2 separate regions of the Homo sapiens genome follow, and region 2 is linked to region 1. The links are contacts of gene promoters, found by promoter capture Hi-C in blood cells and fetal thymus (Javierre and others, 2016). All regions are on one chromosome and are shown on one strand. Each heading gives the region's core, a stretch centred on a gene start or on the middle of the fragment in contact. The rest is flanking DNA. Distances are from core to core; before and after follow the strand shown. Region 1 overlaps ZZZ3 (zinc finger ZZ-type containing 3). Region 2 holds the start of FUBP1 (far upstream element binding protein 1).

Region 1 (3,511 bases), core at 496-2,995:
GTCAGCAATTTTAAATAGACAAATTTTGCATGTTAATACTTTGAGTAGAAAGCTACTTGTCAATTTGGGAGGTGGGGGATGGTCCCGAACATATGTATCTAAAAGTTCGGAATCATAAATAGACTTTATACCTTGAAGGCCAGTTTATTAAGGGATACTTCAACTTAATACATTTATTTTATTTTTTAATTTTGAGACGGAGTCTCACTCTGTCTCCCAGGCTGGAGTGCAGTGGCACAGTCTTGGCTCACTGCAACCTCCGCCTCCCAGGTGCAAGCAATTCTCCTGCCTCAGCTTCCCGAGTAGCTGGTATTACAGGTGCGTGCCACCATGCCCAACTAATTTTTGTATTTTTAGTAGAGACAGGCTTTTGCCATGTTGGCTAGGCTGGTCTTGAACTCCTGACCTAAAGTGATCCGTCCACCTCGGCCTCCCAAAGTGCTGGGATTACAGGTATAAGCCACTGCACCTAGCCTACTTAATACATTTATATAGTTTTTACTGTTTATGTCTCTTACAGTCCATTCTAAATAGTCGTCTTTGTAACTCAGTTCATCTTGTTGAGTAGGAGAGAAATGTTCTACTTTGATCATTGGGAGTACAGAGCAAAAAACAAGAGCAGAGGTTGGTTTGCTTGTTATTAAGAAAGTGTCATGTTTACAGGAGCAAATGTAAAAATCTGTTAGATTGGAGAAGAGGAACTTCCTTAAATGAGGGAGAAGTAGATTACAAGTCACTCAAGTAACCGTGAAAATATAAAGATGGGATTGGGTTTGCAATAGTGTGTGACAGAGGTGGTAATCATGGCCGTGCTTCCCTTTTACCTGCATTGAAGTAGTCTGCTACAATTCAGAATTACTGTTGTGTTAAAAAAAAAAAAAAAAAAAAGTCCAAAAGCATTAGTGGAAAATACTGCTAATAACAGCACTAATTTTCTATGAGTACTAAGAGATATTTTAAAAATGAAAAATATCAGTAGAAAAATATTCTGTATCAGTATTACTTACACTTAATTCATTTTAATTACCAAACCAACATTTTTTTTTTTTTTTTTTTTTGATAGGATGACGAAAGTATTCCTATCATGTATAGGAATTTACCTGAATATAAAGAACTATTACAGTTTAAAAAGTTAAAGAAGCAGAAACTTCAGCAAATGCAAGCTGAAAGTGGATTTGTGCAACATGTGGGCTTTAAGGTAAGTTCTATTTAATTTTAGGATTCATTTCATTTTATTTATTTATTTATTTAGAGACAGAGTCTCACTCTGTTGCCCAGGCTGGAGTGCAGTGGCGTGATCTCAGCTTACTGCAACCTCTGCCTCCCGGGTTCAAGCGATTCTCGTGTCTCAGCCACCCAAGTAGCTGGGATTACAGGTGTGTGCCACTATACCCAGCTAATTTTTGTATTTTTAATAGAGATGGGGGTTTCACCATGTTGGCCAGGCTGCAGTATTCATTTAATTTTAAAAGGGTGATAAGAGATACTTTAAAGTGGTTTCTGTAGTGTTAAACTCCAGAATTGCTAAGCATGTAGGAAAAAGTTATCTTTTATCCCATTCATTTATGCAAAGCAGTGGTGCCATCGTTCCTGATGTGAAGAGTTTATTATTTAGTAGAGTGAAGACAGACATACAGGTAGCTATCAATTGAGGTAAAATGTGAGGGGCTTTTGTTTAGCCGTTTCTCTTTTTGTTGCTGTTGTTCATGGGTCAGAAATGGGTTTTTTTCCCTTTCTGATTGAGAGGCTAATAGAAATGCATATACTCATTCTGCAGAATTTTGTAATACACATTATGTTCCAGTCACTTTGCTAAGTGCTAGAGATTCAGCAGTAAACAAGACAGACTCAGTTCTTGCCCTTACTCTGTTTTCATTCTCATAAGGAATTTAGAGAAGTTAAACAAAATAGTTGAGCGTGGCTAGAGTACATACTAGAGAGTAGTTAGAGGCTGCTTGCACCGCCTTATAAATTTTGCCAAGGAGCTCACACTATCCTGAGAGGTTGGTGGGGGGAACCATTGAATGATTTTAAGCAGAAAGTAACATGACATTTACGTTTTGGAAAGAATCATTCTAGTTACTTAAACTATTGGGGGTGATGATCTTTAGGAAAGCAGTGGGTTTGGAACTGACCAGCTTTTCCCCTCATCATTTTGGCCATAGTATGGAAACTTAATTAGAGGAAGGCAAGACTAGAGTCAAGGAAACTGGTTAGAGATTCTTTTGATAATTTAGACAAAAGAGGAGGGTGTCCTGAACTTGACTGGTGGCCATGGAAATAAAGATTGGCAAGTTTGAGAAGCCTTTAGGCATTAGAATTGACTTGGTTGGACTGGAGGAAGTAATAATGAGACCATAAACTTGGTGGTGTTGGTGGGTGCACATGAAAGTACTGATGTGTGCTGTGACTGGTAAACCAAATTAAAAACAAAGTTATACCTTTGATCCTCTAGAGTAGCCAGTAACCATACTATATTAAATGATTTTCCCTCTTGATCTTTCAGTGACCCTGTTTCTCCAATAGAGATTTTCCTAACTGGCAGCTCTGGCCTTTCAGAAAAACTTGCTTCACTTCTCCTAATTTTGCTGCAAAACCCAGCCATGGCTTGTTTGCCATTCTGTCAGCCACTATAGTTGACCAGATGATCAAAGAAACTAGAAATGATAGATCCTTTGATTTCCAAAAGTGCACAGAACACACTGAGGACTGTCACAATGCCACCACGCTGAGAAAGAGCTAGATCTGCCTTTTTGACATGATGGGCATTGGTTATTAGGAGTCTTTAGGCTTTGGGAGAGCGATTCAATAAGAGATAAAAGTTTAGACAGAATTTCATTGTTGCCTGGGTTTATGTTAGCCAAGAGAACCTGCTAAAACAATTCTGTATCAATTACCAACAGTGAAGCACTACAGGAGGCAGCTGTGGCATTGCTTCCTTAACCAGTATTTGGATAGTTTTAACTATGGTATTAACTCTCTGTTTCTCAACCATAGTCATCATACAGTGGTCTGAGGTACCTTTCAAGTAGATGATTACAAATAACAAAACACCCAAGTTGGAGATGATTTACTTTTAAAAATTTTTAAATAAATTTAAGCTGATTGAAGATTATCCCTTCCAATGTTCCTCTCACTCACCCATATCTTGATATTGAGTGGATGGAATTTTACCTAGTTTGCTAGAAATTGTCTCTAACACATAACCATTTGTGTGTTATATTACTGTCCTGTGCATGGAGAGAGAAGAGAAGATGTCTGTGTGCACATCATGTGTTTCCTTGTGGAAAATAAAAAAGATCGTGGAACAGTATAACTTAATACATTTTCTCTCTGAATCTGTTATAGTGTGATAACTGTGGCATAGAACCCATCCAGGGTGTTCGGTGGCATTGCCAGGATTGTCCTCCAGAAATGTCTTTGGATTTCTGTGATTCTTGTTCAGACTGGTAAGTGTTTTCTTCATTGTCAGTCTTCAACTTAGACAAGAAAAGAGCTTCTCAGCCATTAG
Region 2 (3,511 bases), core at 608-3,107, 410 kb before region 1:
GATTAAATCTGTAGTCCCATACGTGCACTGATTTTTCAAATGCAAATTCCACCAAAATTTATAGGGATGGCCATGAACACTGAAAAAGATCATCAGAGCTATAAATGGATACTACTGCCTTAAAAGCTGATTAAAGGGAAATGATGGCTCACCTGTATCTACATTCATATTAACTGCTATTTTGGTGCTTAAGCAAATGAACACATTACTTTTAGGTTTTCAGAAAGAATGCAGCATATATATATTTCTCACAATTACTCTTAAGAGCTGCTGAAAAAGTATTTTTTTAGACCTAACCAAGTAAGACAAAATGCCACAAAGTCGAGAAAGTTCATTTTACCTCATTGTTTGTTATTTAAACAAATAATTTTGGAAAAAAAAAGTCACTGTGATATACTCAATAATAAAGAGTAAGACTTCTAAAGTATCCTCACGATTCCTGGAGCTTACTACTATTAACACAGTAAATTACATGCCACGATATGTTGGAGAAGGTCTGAAGAAATGTCTGGCATTACTTGGTAACTGAAGTACATAACATAAAATACCAATTTACACACACACACACACACACACACACACACACACATATATATATATATATACCTAGTCCTGTGATGACAATTCAGAATATGATCTTACATTTGAGTACCCACAGGATGGGGTGGGAGAAACTACGCCTAAGAAGCTACAAAATCTATTTTGGTCAAGAAACAATGCTGTTCTTAACTTAAGAGACCTTAACAGGCCGGGCGCAGTGCCTCGCGCCTATAATCCTAGCATTCTGGGAGGCCGAGGCGGGTGGATCACGAGGTCACGAGATCGAGACCATCCTGGCTAACACGGTGAAACCCCGTCTCTACTACAAACGCAAAAAATTAGCCCAGACGTGGTGGCAGGCGCCTGTTGTCCCAGCTACTCGGGAGGCTGAGGCAGGAGAATCGCTTGAACCCAGGAGGCGGAGGATGCAGTGAGCCGAGACCGCGCCACTGCACTCCAGCCTGGGTAACAGAGCGAGACTCTCAAAACAAACAAACAAACAAAAAAAAACCCTTAATAAAAATGGCCATGGACACATACATATACTAGGTTATTAAATCTGGCTAACACTGAACTTTAAGAACAATCACGTTTTTGGATAAAGAAAAGGGCAGTCATACTTTTAGAGCCTCATCCACATTATTTTAAACAAAAAACTTAAAATATGGTCGAGAACTAACAGGCTTCCAGCCTGAATTCAACACCCACCCTCGTGATAAAACTAAAAAATCGGACAGTCTGTAAGTAAAATACAGGGACACTTTACTACCCTGAAAATCATGCTGGGTTCCCGCTACGCCGGGCAGACGTTTTCAGGAGCATCACCGCGCGGCGTCTCGGACGCACTTCTCCTGGCGCCCTCCGGGCGGCAGCGCTCTCGAGACACTGTTGCTTCGCCGTCACGCCCGTCGTTGTCACGCCCTTCCCCGCGGACACCGAGAATGACCCATAGCGGAAAATTCTACCGCACTACCTCCCTGAGGCAGCGACCGGTAAGAAACAACCTTTTCTTCAGGCTTCCCACCACCCAAACACAGTCGCAGTCAACTGGCCACTATCACCCACCACCCTGCAGGAACAATTACCCAGCCTCACCCCAAGAACGCGCGGAGAGGAGGTGCCAAAAGAAATTCTGTTCTCGCGAAGTCTTAAACTTAATCCTCGCGACGTCTCTGTTCCTGTCGTTCTTTCTCAGCCCTAACCCACACCAGCGCGTTGCCTCGGAAACATCGCGAGATTTTGTTCCTTCAGTCTCCGCCCCTTTACGGCACGATGGTCGCGCAAGAATGTAATAGAGCTTCGACGGCCGCCATTTTCTTTCTTTCTTAGCTGTTAGCTGAGAGGAAGTCTCTGAACAGGCGGCAGCGGCTCTTATAGTGCAACCATGGCAGACTATTCAACAGTGCCTCCCCCCTCTTCTGGCTCAGCTGGTGGCGGTGGTGGCGGCGGTGGTGGTGGAGGAGTTAACGACGCTTTCAAAGATGCACTGCAGAGAGCCCGGCAGGTAAGTGTGGACCGCGCGGCGGAATCCCGAAAGCTCACGGTAATTGGCCGCTGACTGAGTAGGCCGCTACCCTTAAGCGCATGAGGAAGAGGAAAGAGGTGTTCTTCCGGGCTGAAATGTGAAGAGACACGTTTCCCCATGTTGGTAATAACGATTAGAGACCAGAACCCAGTTTTGTGTTCTTGGTGCCTAATCCACTTAGAACCCCGACGCGTGCTACGCAAAGAAGGCCTGAAGTCTTTCTCCCGCTTCTGCGGCACTCGCGTGTCTCCAGTGAGCTAGTTTAGATAAAGATCCTCTTCCAGGGGATAAAGCGCAGTTAGTTTCACACAATTTAATGGAAGGTTCTGGTAATGAGTTTGGGAAAGAACTAGGGTCTGTCCTGGAGCCATAGCAAGGGAAGGGATTTATCATTAAAGTAGCCTTTACAGCTCATTTCCGTTCTCTCTCGCAATTAAAACCGCTTTCAGTACCATTCACCGTCACACCTCTACAAGGAAGGGACTTGAAAGCAGCCTTTTTCTGGGCGGGATTTACGTGTCAGTCTGTTCCACCAGTCCGCCCCCCTTATTTCTCAAAATGGCCTCAGGCCCATTATACCAGAGGTTTCAATTTGAATCTGCCTCTCAGTTCAGAGTCGTAAACTGACCAGACCTCTTTGTATTACGTAGTGCGTGCATTTGCCCTGAAGGCACCACTTTCCCAGACGAAAGCTGTTAAAATAGTGCGTGTATTCCAGGAAAATAAAAGATACCTTAATTTGAACTTTACATTCTTAGATAGTCCCCTAATATATTTAACATTTCAAAATGTATGGTGTTGGTATAGATTTGCATGTAAGCAAAAGAATCCTATTCTCTGTGACACTATGCATATTGTACTAGGTGCTGGGCATTTTTTACTAGTTTTAAGCTAATGATAATTAGAAACCAGTGTTGTGCTGTGTTTTCGTTGCATTAGGAGTTCACTTAGTTAACTTTTTACCGGGACAGTTGAAGGAACATTGAGTCAAAATTAGAATTCATAAAATCCGTTGTAACACATCTAATGTGAACGCATTATAAACATGTACCTGTACTTTTTTATAACCAGAAATACTAGGAGTAGTCAACAAAAGGTCATCATTAATATTAGTTCTGCGGTTTTTTCCACGTAATTTAAGAAATTCTGAACATGTTTAGCAACAAGCATATAACTATGACAAACACTCTTAGCGTGTTTTATTAGATTGATTTGTAAAACTTAAGGGAACTATTTTATTTACTGGAACCAACTATTTTATTTTACCAGAACCAGCACATTGGATTAATTGGTATCGCACACTGTAGGTAGATACTGGAGTTTTGTTTTGTTTTGTTTGAGACGGAGTCTCCCTCTGTCGCCCAGACTGGAGTGCAGTGGTGCGATCTCGTCCCACTGCAACCTCTGCCTCCCGGCTTCAAGCAATTCTCCTGCCTCAGCCTCCCG

The links. The method cuts DNA at HindIII sites, captures the fragments that hold promoters and counts their contacts. A CHiCAGO score of 5 or more calls a contact.
Region 2: the fragment with the promoter of FUBP1 here is called in contact with a fragment that was not itself captured in region 1 in 1 of 17 cell types (total CD4 T cells); the score reaches 5.7 in total CD4 T cells.

Annotation. Positions count from the first base shown.
Region 1 is chr1:77,566,019-77,569,529 of GRCh38, reverse strand. ZZZ3 (zinc finger ZZ-type containing 3) reads left to right here. Exons shown (of 15, transcript NM_015534.6): 13 at 1,064-1,198; 14 at 3,349-3,449. Among named protein-coding and RNA genes, the nearest start is that of ZZZ3, 110 kb to the left of the region's middle. The HindIII fragment of the contact is 3,871 bases long and covers 1-3,511 here.
Region 2 is chr1:77,977,418-77,980,928 of GRCh38, reverse strand. FUBP1 (far upstream element binding protein 1) reads left to right here and starts at 1,857. Exons shown (of 20, transcript NM_003902.5): 1 at 1,857-2,044. The coding sequence starts at 1,925. It also overlaps a transcript of DNAJB4 not described here. RefSeq lists enhancers at 1,384-1,443, 1,454-1,603, 1,914-2,043, 2,054-2,113, 2,124-2,173 and 1 more. The HindIII fragment of the contact is 9,300 bases long and covers 1-3,511 here.